Regions from separate parts of the Homo sapiens genome. Here region 1 is linked to region 2. The links are contacts of gene promoters, found by promoter capture Hi-C in human tissues and cell types (Jung and others, 2019). All regions are on one chromosome and are shown on one strand. The core of a region is centred on a gene start or on the middle of the fragment in contact, and the rest is flanking DNA. Distances in the headings are between cores, read along the strand shown.

Region 1 (7,273 bases), core at 4,553-7,052, 530 kb after region 2:
CATAGTGAAGGCTAATGTTGCTGGATGGGGGTGAGGAGAGTGAGGTGTTTGGACAGGTGGGCAGAGAAGTCTGACAAGACCACCTTGTAGACCAAGTGAGGAGTATGAAGTTTTTCCTAAGTCTGCTGGGAAACCAGGCACAGGCACGTTTTCTAGCAGGGAGAAGCAGGGATGGTGATGGTGTGATTTAGGATTTCCAAGGCCCCAGAGTGAATTAGAGAGGGGTGAGAACAGCTGCAAGGATGTGCCGGTGCAGTTATCATATTTTGTTGAGATTGTACAATTAGTCCTTTGTCTCTCCCCCTGACACTTTTTTTTTTTTTTTTTTTTTTTTTGTCTTGCTCTGTCTCCCAGGCTGGAGTGCAGTAGCATGATCTTGGCTCACTGCAACCTCTGCCTCCTGGGTTCAAGCGATCTCCTACCTCAGCTTCCCTAGTAGTTGGGATTACAGGCGTGTACCACCACACCCGGCTAATTTTTGTATTTTTCGTAGAGGCGGAGTTTTGCCATGTTGGCCAGGATGGTCTCAAACTCCTGACCTCAGGTGATCCACCTGTCTCGGCTTCCCAAAGTGCTGGGATTACAGGCATGAGCCACTGTGTCCAGCAACCACCACCCCGCTCCTTTTTTATTTTTATTGTTTTTGAGACGGAGTCTTGCTTTGTTGCCCAGTCTGGAGTACGGTGGTGCGATCTCGGCTCATTGCAACCTCTGCCTCCCAGGTTCAAGCAATTCTGGTGCCTCAGCCTCCTGAGTAGCTGGGACTACAGGCATGCGCCACCATGCCTGGCTATGTCTCCCCGCCCCCTTTCTTGGTTTGTTTGTTTGTTTTTTGAGACGGAGTCTTGCTCTTGTTGCCCAGGCTGGAGTGCAATGGTGCAATCTTGGCTTGCTGCAACCTCCACCTCCCGGATTCAAGCGATTCTCCTGCCTTAGCCTCCTGAGTAGCTGGGACTACAGGCACTCACCACCACACCCAGCTAATTTTTTTTGTATTTTTAGTACAGATGGGGTTTCACCATGTTGGCCAGGCTGGTCTCAAACTCCTGATCTCAGGTGATCCACCCACCTCGGCCTCCCAAAGTGCTGGGATTACAGGCTTGAGCCACCACACCTGGCCACGTCTCCCCTTTTAGCAAACAAAGTGTGGCTGGACGTGGTGGCTCATAACTGTAATCCCAGCAGTTTGGGAGGCCGAGGCGGGAGGATCACTTGAGGCCAGGAGTTCAAGACCATCCTGGGCAACACAGTGAGACTTCATCTCTGCAAAAAAAAAAAAAAAAAAAAAAAAAAAAGAATTAGCTGGGCATGGTAGTGCATGCCTGCAGTCCCAGCTACTCAAGGGGCTGAGGTGGGAGGATGACTTGAACCTGGGAGGTTGAGGCTGCGCTGCAGTGAGCTGTGATCTCACCCACTGCACTCTAGCCTGGGTGACAGAATGAGACTTTGTCTCCAAAAAAAAAAAAAAGGCCTGAACTGCAACTTTATCTCCAGTGCCACCAAATTCCCCAGTGGGTCTCTGTAAATATTCACTGAGTAAATGAATGCCTGAAGGGTGGAGCGAGAATTTGGCTGGTTTCCCCAGCTCCATCTGGGGAGGCAGCCTGGGACCTCACAGGTTGGGGAGGGAGGGCCCATCCCTGTGCAAGGTGGTTCCAGACAACCCAATCCTTCGGCCCCCATGAAACCTCACTCTGCCTTGTCCTCCTCATCTGTAGAATGGGTGGGCTGGAGAATTAGAGGGAGCTACTTCGTTTCTCAGGGAAAGGGCCATAGACATCCTGGCTTGATGATTGGGGTAAGGGACTTCTCAGCTTACTCACCTGCAAAACTGGAGCAAAAGAACTAGTTTGGGCCAAGCTTGATGGCTCATGCCTGTAATCCCAGCATTTCAGGAGGCCAATGCAGAAGAATTGCTTGAGCCCAGGAGTTCAAGACCAGATTGGGCAATATTACGAGATCCAGTATCTACACACACACAAAAAAATTTTTTGAAAAAACTAGCCAGACATGGTGGTGCACACCTGTGGTCCCAGCTACCTGGGAGGCTGAGGCAGGAGGATCGTTTAAACCTGCAAGGTGGAAGCTGCAGTGAGCTGCGATGGCGCCACTGCACCCCAGCCTGAGTGACAGAGTGAGACCCTGTCTCTAAATAAATAAATATCAGGCTGGGCGCGGTGGCTCACACCTGTAATCCCAGCACTCTGGGAGGCCAAGGTGGGCAGATCACCTGAGGTCAGGAGTTCGAGACCAGCCTGCCCAATGTAGAGAAACCCCATGTCTGCTAAAAATACAAAATTAGCCGGGTGTGGTGGTACATGCCTGTAATTCCAGCTACTCAGGAGGCTAAGGCTGGGAATTGCTTGAATCAGGGAGGCAGAGGTTGCGTTCAGTTGAGATCGTGCCATCACACTTCAGCCTGGGCAACGAGAGCGAAATTCTGTCTAAACAAACAAACAAACAAATAAATAAATAAATATGAAAGAACTAGCTTGCAGAGTTTTTTTTTGTTTTTTTTTTTTTTTTTTTTTTGAGAGGGAGTCTCGCTCTGTCCCCCAGGCTGGAGTCTCGCTCTGTCCCCCAGGCTGGAGTGCAGTGGCGTGATCTCAGCTCACTGCAACCTCTGCCTCCCAGGTTTACGCCATTCTCCTGCCTCAGCCTCCCGAGTAGCTGGGACTACAGGCGCCCGCCACCACGCCCGGCTAATTTTTTGTATTTTTAGTAGAGATGGGGTTTCATCGTGTTAGACAGGATGGTCTCGATCTCCTGACCTCGTGATCTGCTCGTCTGGGCCTCCCAAAGTGCTGGGGTGACAGGCGTGAGCCACCATGCCTGGCCATGAGTTCTTTTCTTTTCTCTTTTCTTTTTCTCCCTTCCCCTCCCTCCCTTCCTTCCTCTCTCTCTCTCTCTCTCTCTCTCTCTCTCTTTCTTTCTTTCTGACAGTCTTGCTCTATCACCCAGGGGGGTGTGCAGGGGTGCGATCTTGGCTCACTGCAACCTCCGCCTCCCAGGTTCAAACCATTCTCCTGCCTCAGTCTCTCAAGTAGCTGAATATACAGATGCCCGCCAGCACACCTGGCTAATTTTTTAATTTTTAGTAGAGATGGGGTTTCACCATGTTGGCCAGGCTGGTCTCGAATTCCTGGCCTCAAGTGATTCACCCCCCTTGACCTCCTAAATTGCTGGGATTACAGGTGGGAGCCACTGCGCCCAGCCACAGAGTTCTTTCTTTTATTCAATCAACAAGCATTTGAGAAACAGTTAGAAGGCTCATGTGGCTGGAAGGAGTGAGCAAGGGGGAGAGATGGGAGGAAGTAAGAACTGATGGTGCAGAGCTTCGTGGGCTGTGGGGAGGACCTGAGTTTTTTCCCTGAGTGAGCTGGGAGCCATGGAGGGTTCTAGACAGAGGAGGGGCATACCCCATCTCATGTGTTCACTGCTCCCTTGGGCTGTTGTGGGAACAGACTGTGGGGGCGAGGGCAAAACCAGGAGACCAGGAGAGAGGTGACTACTGGTTAAGGTGAGTGATGGTAGGGACTGGATGCGACAAAGTGGAAAGGTGAAATGTGGGTGAATTCTGGGCTTGTGTGTGTGTTGTTGTTGTTTTCTTTCTCTTTTTTTTTTTTTTTTTGAGAGGGAGTCTCGCTCTGTCGCCCAGGCTGGAGTGCAGTGGCGCGATCTCGGCACACTGCAAGCTCCGCCTCCTGGGTTCATGCCATTCTCCTGCCTCAGCCTCCCTAGTAGCTGGGACTACAGGCGCCCGCCGCTTTCACCATGTTAGCCAGGATGGTCTCAATCTCCTGACCTCGTGATCCGCCTGCCTCTGCTTCCCAAAGTGCTGGGATTACAGGCGTGAGCCACCACACCTGGCCCCCTCTTTTTTCTTTTTTTAGATGGAATCTTGCTCTGTCGCTCAGGCTGGAGTGCAATGGCACGATCTCGGCTCACTGCAATCTCCGCCTCTTGGGTTCAAGCTATTCTCCTGCCTCAGCCACCCGAGTAGCTGGGATTACAGGCATGCGCCACCACGTTCAGCTAATTTTATATTTTTTAGCAGAGATGGGTTTCACCATATTGGCTAGGCTGGTCTCGAACTCCTGACCTCCAGTGATCCATCCACCACCCACCTTGGCTTCCTAAAGGGCTGGGATTACAGGGGTGAGCCACTGCACCCAGCCGTTTTTTTTTTTCTTTCTTTTTTTAGACAGGGTCTCGCTCTGTCACCCAGGCTGGAGTGCAGGGGCATCATGATTTCTCCCCACAGTGATGCATTCTCGGCCTCTTGAGCTCAAGCGATCCTCCCGCCTCAGCCTCCTGGTAGCTGGGACTACAGGCGTGCGCCACCATGCCCGGCTGGATGGGTTCTGGATCAGCATAATTCTCCTCCTTCTCTCTTTCTGTTGTTAGTATCTCCCAAAGAGTTGCTCAGAGGAAAAAATAAGAGAGAAAACATCGCGCCCTGGTTTCTGGGACGACTGAAACCACGCAGAGCCACGGGTAACCAAGGTACCCGCAGCCCACGGCGCTTCCTCGGGTCCCAAAGGGCGCCAATGTGCAGGCACCGCCGCCAGGGAGCGCTCCCTGCCGGAGCCCCGGAGACCAAGGTTTGGCTCCCTCGCCTGGTTTCCGAAGGAGTGAGGGTCCGACGGCGGCCACGAACAAAGCTGCACGCTCTGCAGACCCCGGAGATCCCCTAGAAATTCCGCAGAGGCCTCCACTCTCCGCTTGGGCACGAGTCTGCATTTATGGAGCGCCATCTGCATGCAGCAGCCCCGAAAAAGAAGGCGATGCCCATTTTATAGCGGGGAAAACTGAGACTCAGAGGCCACAGGGGTCCCCAGGATGAACAGCAAGTTGGGATTCAAACCTCTTTTAATAACAATAACGATAATAGAGGCTGGGCGCGGTGGCTCAGGCCTGTGTAATCTCAGCACTTTAGGAGACCGAGGCGGGCGGATCACCTGAGATCAGGAGTTCGAGGCCAGCCTGGCCAATATGATGAAACCCCGTCTCTACTAAAAATACAAAAATTAGCCGGGTATGGTGGTGGGCACCTGTAATCCCAGCTACTCAGGAGGCTGAGGCAGAAGAATCACTTGAATCCGGGAGGCGGAGGTTGCAGTGAGCCGAGATCGCGCCACTGCACTCCAGCATGGGCAACAGAGCGAAACTCCGTCCAAAAATAGCAAAACAACAAACAAACAATTACGATAACATTAAAAGTGACAGCAGCTAACACTTATGGAGCGTCTAGTGTGTTCTCAGCTCTTGGCCTGCACTGTCTTATTGAATTTTACCAACACCGAGGAGGTGAGCGCATCATTCCCATTTCACAGATGAGGTGCCTGGAAGGGTTTGTCTCCCTCAAGGCGTAAAGCGCTAGGATTTGAATGCAGATCCGCCCAGAGCTTGTCTCCAGGTAACGGGGAAACTTCCATGCCCTTGAATAGGGGACCACAGATGCAGGCGTCCCGAGCTTGCAAATGCACCGGGGTAGGGTGGGGTGGGGGGTTATTCTGTTTGTTTTTTTCAGGGGTCCCGGGAGGCCCAAAGGCCTCCGCCGCTCTCGGCTTGAACGCGTGGAACCGTTCTCCTCGGGTTCCCGCGCGCTCCAATGGGGGACCCCTCGGCAGCGTGCGGTCGTCTCGGGACCCGGAAAGAGGAAAGGTGGGGAGCCGATGGGGATGCTCCGGGCTCGGGAGACCGAGGGGGCGGACGGGCGGGACCCCGCAGCCCCGGGGGCCTCTGGGAACCCGTCCCCCCTCGGCCCCGCCCCCTCCCCGGGCGCCGACCTCCGGGGTCACGTGACCAGGCCCGGCGGCCGCTGGGGCCGGAGGGCGCGGCGCGGGGACGCGGCGGCCTGGCCAGGCGAGGCGGGAGCCGAGCAGGCCGGAGCGGGCCGCGCGCCGGGGAGGGTCGCGCCGCGCCCGCCCCCTCCCCGCCACGCCCGGGGCGCACGCGCGCTCCTCTGGCCGCCCCTCCCTCCGCGCGGGGACCCCTGGCGGGCGGCAGGAGGACATGGCCAGCGACGCCGTGCAGGTAGGCGCACCTGCGTCTGGAGTCCCGGGGCGACCGGACGGCGCCGGCGGACCCCGCCCGCGCGCTGCCGGGGGAGCCCCCCCAGCCCCCGGAACGGGACTCGGGTGACGATGGCAAGGGCGGGGGCCTCCGGAGCGCCCGGCGCCCCCTCCCTGGGCCGGGACTGTGGAGCCAGCGAGGCCCCCTTCTCGGCAGGTGGCGATGTGGACTGGGCTGGTTTGGGGGCGATCCCGGAGGCAACCCCTGCTACACCCTCAAACTCGGCCTCTCCTGGAGAACTAGAAGGGGCGCGGCGGAGGCTCTACTTCGGGTGTCTGTGGCTGGCTGGGCGTCCCAGTGCCTCTCGTCCGCCCCCAAACTCATCCCCCTCCCCAGGGTTGGGTACCCGGCAGGTGCCGCTCCACCTGGGGCACGTGCCTGGCGCAGTGCCCTGGGAGGGGAGGAGGCTGCTGGGCCCGGCCCGTGCCCTTCCCCCGCATAACAAAGCTCCAGCCACCCCCGCCTCTAGACAGCTTTATGATGTTCCAGACGCCACCCAGATTGGCACCTGTTGGCGGAAGTACCCGAGTCACTGCATTAGGTCGGGGGAATGGGGACCCCCACTCCCACCCTTGGGCTGTCAGGTGGAACCTTCTCCTGGGTGGGGAGTGTCTCAGTCAACAGGCCAGGGATGCTCCCATATATAGAATCCTACTTTTTTGCATGGTGGCTGGGCATGGCTGGGTCACCCCCACCCTGCTAACACACACACGTGACTGGCACCAGCCTCCCGCCCAGCCAGATTCCCCTTGTGCCACCTGGTGGGGATCACTGACCTGGACTCATCTTCCCCGTCTGTGACAAGCACGGCCAGGGTGACTGCCAACCTTCTTTGGTTCAAGTGACCCAAATCTGAGAAATGTCTGTGCCTCAGTGTCCCCATTAGCACCTCACCATCCAGTTCATTGTCCTGTGGTTGTTGTGTAACTGGGTTCTCGTCTCCTTCTGCACCTGCCCCCGGCCCCTTTGTGTCTCCCCGGTAACCCCCGGTCCCTCCCGCCTTCCCAGTCCTGCTGATGGCCTGCCGGCCTTGCCGAGGAGCTGGGCGTATCTGGTGTTGCCGATCACACAAGGTCAGACCTCAAGGCCGGGATGGGCCGGGGTCCCTGCCTCTACCCCCGGCCCAGGGAGGGCTGTGTAGGAATCCCCGGGTGCATGCATGCGCTTGGCGCATCCCACACATGACCCAGACAGG
Region 2 (6,792 bases), core at 3,965-6,464:
TTCTAAGAGACAGGGTTTTGTTCTGTGGCCCAGGCTGGAGTGCAGGCGCAATCATAGCTCACTGCAGCCTGGAACTCCTCAGCTCAAGCCATCCTCCTGCCTCAATCTCCCAAGTAGCCAGGACTACAGGTAGGCACCACCACACTGGTTAATTAAAATTTTTTTTTTTTTTTAGAGACTGGGTAACATTATGTTGCTCAGGCTGGTCATGAACTCCTGGTCTCAGGCAATCCTTTCACCTCGGCCTCCCAAGTAGCCTGGAGTACAGGTGCGTACCACCAAGCCTGGCTATTTTGGGGTGTTTTTCTTTTCAAATGATGAAATTGTATAGGTATGTTGACAAGTAAACATGGTCATGATCTACCACAAAGTGAAAAATGGAGGTTGCAGATCAGTAAGTGTGATGATTCGATTTTCCAATAAAAACATTTTATCTGGGCCAGGCACGGTGGCTCATGCCTGTAATCTTTGGGAGGCTGAGGCAGGCGGATAACTTGAAGTCAGGAGTTAGAGAGCAGCCTAGCCAACATGGTGAAACCCCGTCTCTACTAAAAATGCAAAAATTTGCCAGGCATGGTGGCAGGTACCTGTAATCCCAGCTACTCAGGAGGCTGAGGCATGAGCATCACTTGAACCCAGGAGGCAGAGGTTACAGTGAACCAAAATCGTGCCACTGCACTCCAGCCTGGGTGACAGAGTGAGACTGTCTCCAAAAAAAAAAAAAAGAAAAAAGCTCAACACTGTATCTGTATATATACAGAAAAAGTCTGACCAGGCATGGTGGCTCATGCCTGTAATTCTGAGCACATTGGGAGGCCAAGGCAGGTGGACTGCTGGAGCCCAGAAGTTCAAGACCAGCCTGGGCAACATAGTGAGGCCTCGTCTCTTCCAAAAAATACAAAAATTAGCCAGTCATGGTGGCACACACCTGTAGTCCCAGCTATTCCGGAGGCTGAGGTGGGAAGATCACCTGAGCCTGGGGAGGTCGAGGCTGCAGCGAGCTATGATTGTGCCACTGCTCTCCAGCCTGGGCGACAAAGCAAGACTCTGTCTCGAAAAAAAGAAAAAAAAAAAAGCTGGGTATGGTGGCTCACTCCAGTAATCCCAGCACTTTGGCTGAGGCGGGCAGATCATGTGAGGCCAGGAGTTCAAGATCAGCCTGGGCAACATGGTGAAACCCCATCTCTACTACAAATACAAAAATTATCTGAGCGTGGTGGCAGACACCTGTAATCCCAGCTACTCAGGAGGCTGATGCAAGAGAATCGCTTGAAACCAGGAGGCGGAGGCTGCAGTGAGTCAAGATCGTGCCACTGCACTCCAGTCTGGGCAACAGAGTGAGACATCATCTTAAAAAAAAGTCTGAGCTGGGCGCGCTGGCTCATGCCTGTAATCCCAGCACTTTGGGAGGCCGAGATGGGCGGATCACCTGAGGTTGGGAGTTCGAGACCAGCCTGACCAACATGGAGAAACCCCATCTCTACTAAAAATACAAAAAAATTAGCTGGGCATGGTGGCATATGCCTGTAATCTCAGTTACTTGGGAGGCTGAGGCAGGAGAATTGCTTGAATCTAGGAGGCAGAGGTTGCGGTGAGCCGAGATCGCGCCAGCCTGGGCAACAAGATCAAGACTCTGTCTCAAAAACAAAAACAAAAAAGTCTGGGCTGGGCGCGGTGGCCTACTCCTGTATCCCCAGCACTTTGGGACACCAAGACGGGCAGATCACCTGAGGTTGGGAGTTCAAGACCAGCCTGACCAAACCCTGACTCTACTAAAAAAATACAAAAATTAGCTCAGCATGGTGGTGGGTGCCTGTAATCCCAGCTACTTGGGAGGCTGAGGCAGGAGAATCGCCTGAACTTGGGAGGTGGAGGTTGCAGTAAGCCGAGATCGCGCCACTGCACTCCAGCCTGGGCAACAAGAGCGAAACTCCGTCTCAAAAAAAAAAAAAAAAGTCTAGAAGCAGTGTACCGAGGTTAGAGTCCTGTCCTGTTTTTCATGCTGTTCTACAGTTGATCACTGTCCTATGGCTATGCTAGATGTCAACATTAGGGAAAGCTTGGAGAAGGGTAGCTAGAACTCTCTGAATTATTTTTGCAACTTTTCTTTAAGTCCCAGATTACTTCAAAATAAAAGTTTTCTTAAAAGTCTGGAAGAAGAATTGTTAACAGCAGTGTACATTTGTGTACTACCTTAGGTCAGTTCTGGGTGCTTTACAGATACTAATCCACATGTGAGCTCTAAGGGCAGGATTCTTCACCTTGGAGGACATTTGGGGCTGGATCATTCTCTGTGGCTGGGGGGCATCCTATGCATGGTAGGATATTTGAGCAGCATCCCTGGCCTCCACCCACTAGATGTCAGTATAATTTCCCCAGTTATGAAAACCAAAAAAAGTCTCTAGGCCGGGCACGGTGGCTCCCACCTGTAATCCCAGCACTTTGGGAGGCTGAGGCAGGCAGATCACCTGAGGTCAGGAGTTTGAGACCAGCCTGGCCAACATTGTGAAACCCTATCCCTACTAAAAATACAAAAATTAGGCGGGCGTGGTGGTGCACATCTGTAGTCCCAGCTACTTAGGAGGCTGAGGCTGCAGAATCGCTTGAACCCAGGAGGTGGAGGCTGCAGTGAGCCAAGATCTTGCTACTGCACTCCAGCCTGGACGACAGAGTCAGACTTGGTCTCCAAAAAAAAAAAAAATAAAGTCTCCAAACATTGCCAGCTGTCTCTGGAGGTCAAAATCCCTTCCTCTCACCTAGTTGAGAAACACTGCTCTAAAGGAAAGGGTAGTGGCTTTTATTATCCCCAATTTACAAAAGGGGAAACTGTGGCACAGAGGAAATCATCCACCACCACACACTGAGCAGAACTGGGATGAACCCAGGTTTTGGGCCCCAGAGTAAAACACTCAGCCACATACCGAGTGGCCTTGTAGTACATCAAGCATTATTCCAGGGGTCATCTCTGGGACTGGTTCCGCAGGGAGGCTGTCCCGCTGCCCTGAAGCCCGGGGAGGCCTCCTCTAAGCTGTGGGACCCCACCAGAGGCTTGCAGAAGCTCCAGAAAACTTTCACTTTTACTTTTCCTGTATGCCCTCTCCGTTATTTCTATTTTTCTTTCTTTCTTTTTTTTTTTGAGACAGGGCCTCAATCTATCAGTCAGGATGGAGTGCAGTGGTACGATCTGGATTCACTGCAACCTCCACCTCCCAGTTCAAGCAATCTTCCTGCCTCAACCTCCTGAGTAGCTGGGACTACAGGTGCCTGCCACCACGCCCAGCTAATTTCCTTACTTTACATTGTAGAGACAGGATCTCGCTATGTTGCCCAGGCTGGTCTTGAACTCCTGGACTCAAGCGATCCGCCCACCTCGGCCTCCCAAAGTGCTAGGATTACAGGCGTGAGCCACCACACCGGCCTTCTATTTTTCTTACCAGCATGAATTAAATCCTTTTTGTCTTTTTCTTTTTTTTGAGACAGAGTCTTGCTCTGTTGCCCAGGCTAGAGTGCAGTGGCACCATCTTGGCTCACTGCAACATCGGACTCCCAGGTTCAAACGATTCTCCTGCCTCAGTCTCCCGAGTAGGTGGGACTACAGGCATGTGCCACAACACCTGGCTAATTTTTGTATTTTTAGTAGAGACGGGGTTTCACCATGTTGGTCAGGCTGGTCTTGAACTCCTGACCTTGTGATCTGCCCGCCTCGGCCTCCCAAAGTGCTGAGATTACAGGTGTGAGCCACCGCACCCGGCCAATCCTTGCTTCCTTTTAAGGAGGTTAAGGCAGTCGTGTTAGCCAGATCTGCAATAAACAAGCCCACATTCTTCCCACAAGCAGAAGCAGAAATCAACAAGTGTCCATTTGAATGAACGTACCTGAGGTCCGCAGCTTCTTCCTCTTAGTCATTTTATCTTCCCCTTGAGAAATCTGAAAACAAGCAAAATCTCTCATCATTATAAGCAGTCTCTGTCTCTGTTTATATCCAGTGGCTTTGGCTGAGAGCAGAGGTTACCCCTACCTCCACCTCAGCCCATTTGGCTGCCCCAGGGGTCAGATGGCTCCCACTGGGACACAGGATGGGACACAGAGTCACAGCCACTTTGGGCCATGGCCAGGTAGGAATTCAAACCTCCTCCAAACTGAAGATCTTATGCCCAGGACCTGAAAGACAAATGGGCCCTGGGGGGTCCTTATAGATAGCCCCGGGGACCCAGACTCTGGTCCCTAGGATGAAACAGCCTGTGTGAAGCCCCTCCCTCCAGACTGGGGTATCTGGGGGCCCTTCCAAGGACACTTGAGGACTCTCCAGGGGCCTCTGGAGACCAGCCTGGCCAATATGGTGAAACCCCCTCTCTATTAAAAACACAAAAATTAGCCTGGGCATCGTGACGCACACCTGTAATCCCAGCTACTTGGGAGGCTGAGACAGTAGAATTCCTTGAACCCATGAGGCAGAGGTTGCAGTGAGCCGAGATCGCTCTACTGCACTCCAGCCTGGGCGACAGAGCGAGACTCCGTCTCAAAAAAAAAAAAAAAAATTAGTCAGGTGCGGTGGCACACACCCGTAATCCCAGCTACTCAGGAGGCTGTGGTACAAGGCCAGGAGGCAGAGGTTGCAATGAGCCAAGATCGTGCCACTTTAAAGGGGACAGCTGGGTCCTTGGAGGGGAAAGAGCTGCCATAGGCCGGTTTCTCCCAGCCTTGGGGGCGAGGCAAACCAGAACGGACCTGGGCCACAGAAGTCGTTGAGGACCCTCTGTCCTTATCAGAAACGAGCTCTGCCTGGATCAGTTGGGAATAAGTCGCTTGAATTATCCGCGTTACTCTTTTTGGAAAAAATAAATGGCCAAATTGGCCCTCACAGAACGCTGGAGGCCTCGAGTCCGGAGGTGAAAGATGGAAAGGCCTGAGGGTGGGCGCTGTAGACCCCGCTCCCGGTGACAAGCCCCACACTGACACTACGCCGACCACCGAGAAGTGAGGACTCCACAGGCCGAGAGCCCACGTGAAGCCGGAGCCCGTCGGTGACTGACAGACGCTCTGAACCCCACAGATGTCGCCGCCCCTCACACCTGCGCGCGCTCTGCCTCTTTCCCGCGCCCCGCGAGGTCCCGCCCCGCGCATGAGCGACGCAAACACCGCCCTCGCAGCCCGCGACAGTCAGCACCGCCCCAGCCAGGCGCCTGCGCGCCCACGCACTACCTGCCGGGAGTTGTAGTTTCGGCTCGGCAGACCCGGCGAGCCCAGTGGCCGCGCTCCGGTGCGGCGGCGCCCGAGGCCCGAGGCGGAAGTGGGACGGCCAAGCAGGGAAGCGAGGGCTCGGGATCGACGGCCGCGGGGCGCCGACGAGGAGTGCAGGACTCAGGAAGGGCGAGTGCGCGGCGACAGAGCCCGGGGAAGGAGGCAGGGCAAGGCCGGGCTTGGGGGCAGGTGGTCCGGGCATCCAGCCTTGAAGATGCACAAGAGGAAAGGACCCCCGGGACCCCCGGGCAGAGGCGCCGCGGCCGCCCGCCAGGTGAGTTTGCGCCCCACGGCCCGACCTGGGGATCCCTCCCCACCCCCGTCACTCGCTCAGGGAAGGGCCCCACCCCCCAGGGAAGCCCGATCTCCGCCCCACAGGTAAGCCCCGGTCCCCGCCTCCCCCCAGGTGAGGCTCCAACACCACCCAAGTGTGGCCTACTGGCCTTGGCTCCCCAGCTCCTGGGGCCCTGCCCCGGGTTCGGGGCCACCTGTTGCCACAGCTGCTCCAGTCGAGGAGGGGCAGTCCTCGGACTTGACACATCAAACCCTTGCATCAGTCGGGCCATGTCAGACTCTTTTTATTCCATTGTACAGATGAGGACTTTGAGACTCAGAGACGTGAAGACATCTGCCCAAGGTCATAGGGATTAACAGCTTGGCCAGGGCTAAGCACAAATCCAGGGCTGCAGCCATAAGCTTATGGCACTGTGGCTGGACCCCTTCTCACTCTCCCGACTTCTTTGCCCCAGGCACCAGATAGTTTGATTTTTCTCAGTTTTGATGGAAGGAGCCCAGGACATAGCTTGGTGTTCAGATATTAGAGTCTGGCTGACCTGAAGTTCCCTCCTGGCCTCTGTACATCGGACACTTGACTTTACAGCTCTGAGCCTCAGCTTTCTCATCTGTAAAATGGAGATCTCTATAATCCCAGCACTTCAGGAGATGGAGGCGGAGGCAGAGGTGGGAGAGTCATTTGAGGCCAGAGTTTGAGACCAGCCTGGGCAAAAGCAAGACCCCCGTCTCGACAAAAAAAGACTAACTGGGCATGGTGGCATGTGCCTGTAGTACTACTACTTGGGAGGCTAAGAAGGGAGGATTGCTTGAGCCCAGGAGTTCAAGACCGCAGTGAGCTATGATTGCGCTACTTCTGCTCCAGCCTGGGTGACAGAACAAGACTCTTTCTCTAAAATAAAGATAAAAAATTAAAAATGGAAGTCCGGGGTGGTGTCTCACACCTGTAATCCCAGCACTTTGGGAGGCCATGGCGAAACCCCATCTCTACTAAAAATACAAAAATTAGCTGGGCATGGTGGCGGGCACCTGTAATCCCAGCTACTCGGGAGGCTGAGGTGGGAGAATCGCTTGAACCGAGAGGCGGAGGTTGCAGTGAGCTGAGATCGCGCCACTGCATTCCAGACTGGGTGACAGAGCAAGGCTCCTTCTCAAAATAAATAAATAAATTCCTTCTGAAAATAAATAAATAAATAAAAAATTAAAAATGGAGACCTCCAAGAGACCCTACATTACAGGACAGTTGTAGAGAGTCATTGA

Evidence for each region. Contacts are between HindIII fragments. The study calls those that stand out against the background at their distance.
Region 1: the fragment with the promoter of PKN1 here is called in contact with the fragment with the promoter of CC2D1A in region 2 in 3 of the 25 tissues and cell types used here (dorsolateral prefrontal cortex, lymphoblastoid cells and spleen).

Annotation. Positions count from the first base shown.
Region 1 is chr19:14,427,504-14,434,776 of GRCh38, forward strand. It overlaps PKN1 (protein kinase N1), which reads left to right and starts at 5,803. Exons shown (of 22, transcript NM_002741.5): 1 at 5,803-6,039. The coding sequence starts at 6,019. RefSeq lists enhancers at 4,543-4,822, 5,697-6,270, 6,271-6,843 and silencers at 5,553-5,892, 6,063-6,132, 6,423-6,532. The HindIII fragment of the contact is 61,187 bases long and covers 1-7,273 here.
Region 2 is chr19:13,900,987-13,907,778 of GRCh38, forward strand. CC2D1A (coiled-coil and C2 domain containing 1A) reads left to right here and starts at 5,215. Exons shown (of 29, transcript NM_017721.5): 1 at 5,215-5,515. The coding sequence starts at 5,456. It overlaps BRME1 (break repair meiotic recombinase recruitment factor 1), which reads right to left and starts at 5,131. Exons shown (of 9, transcript NM_001345843.2): 1 at 4,729-5,131; 2 at 3,876-3,927. The coding sequence starts at 3,906. RefSeq lists a silencer at 5,530-5,589. The HindIII fragment of the contact is 13,583 bases long and covers 1-6,792 here.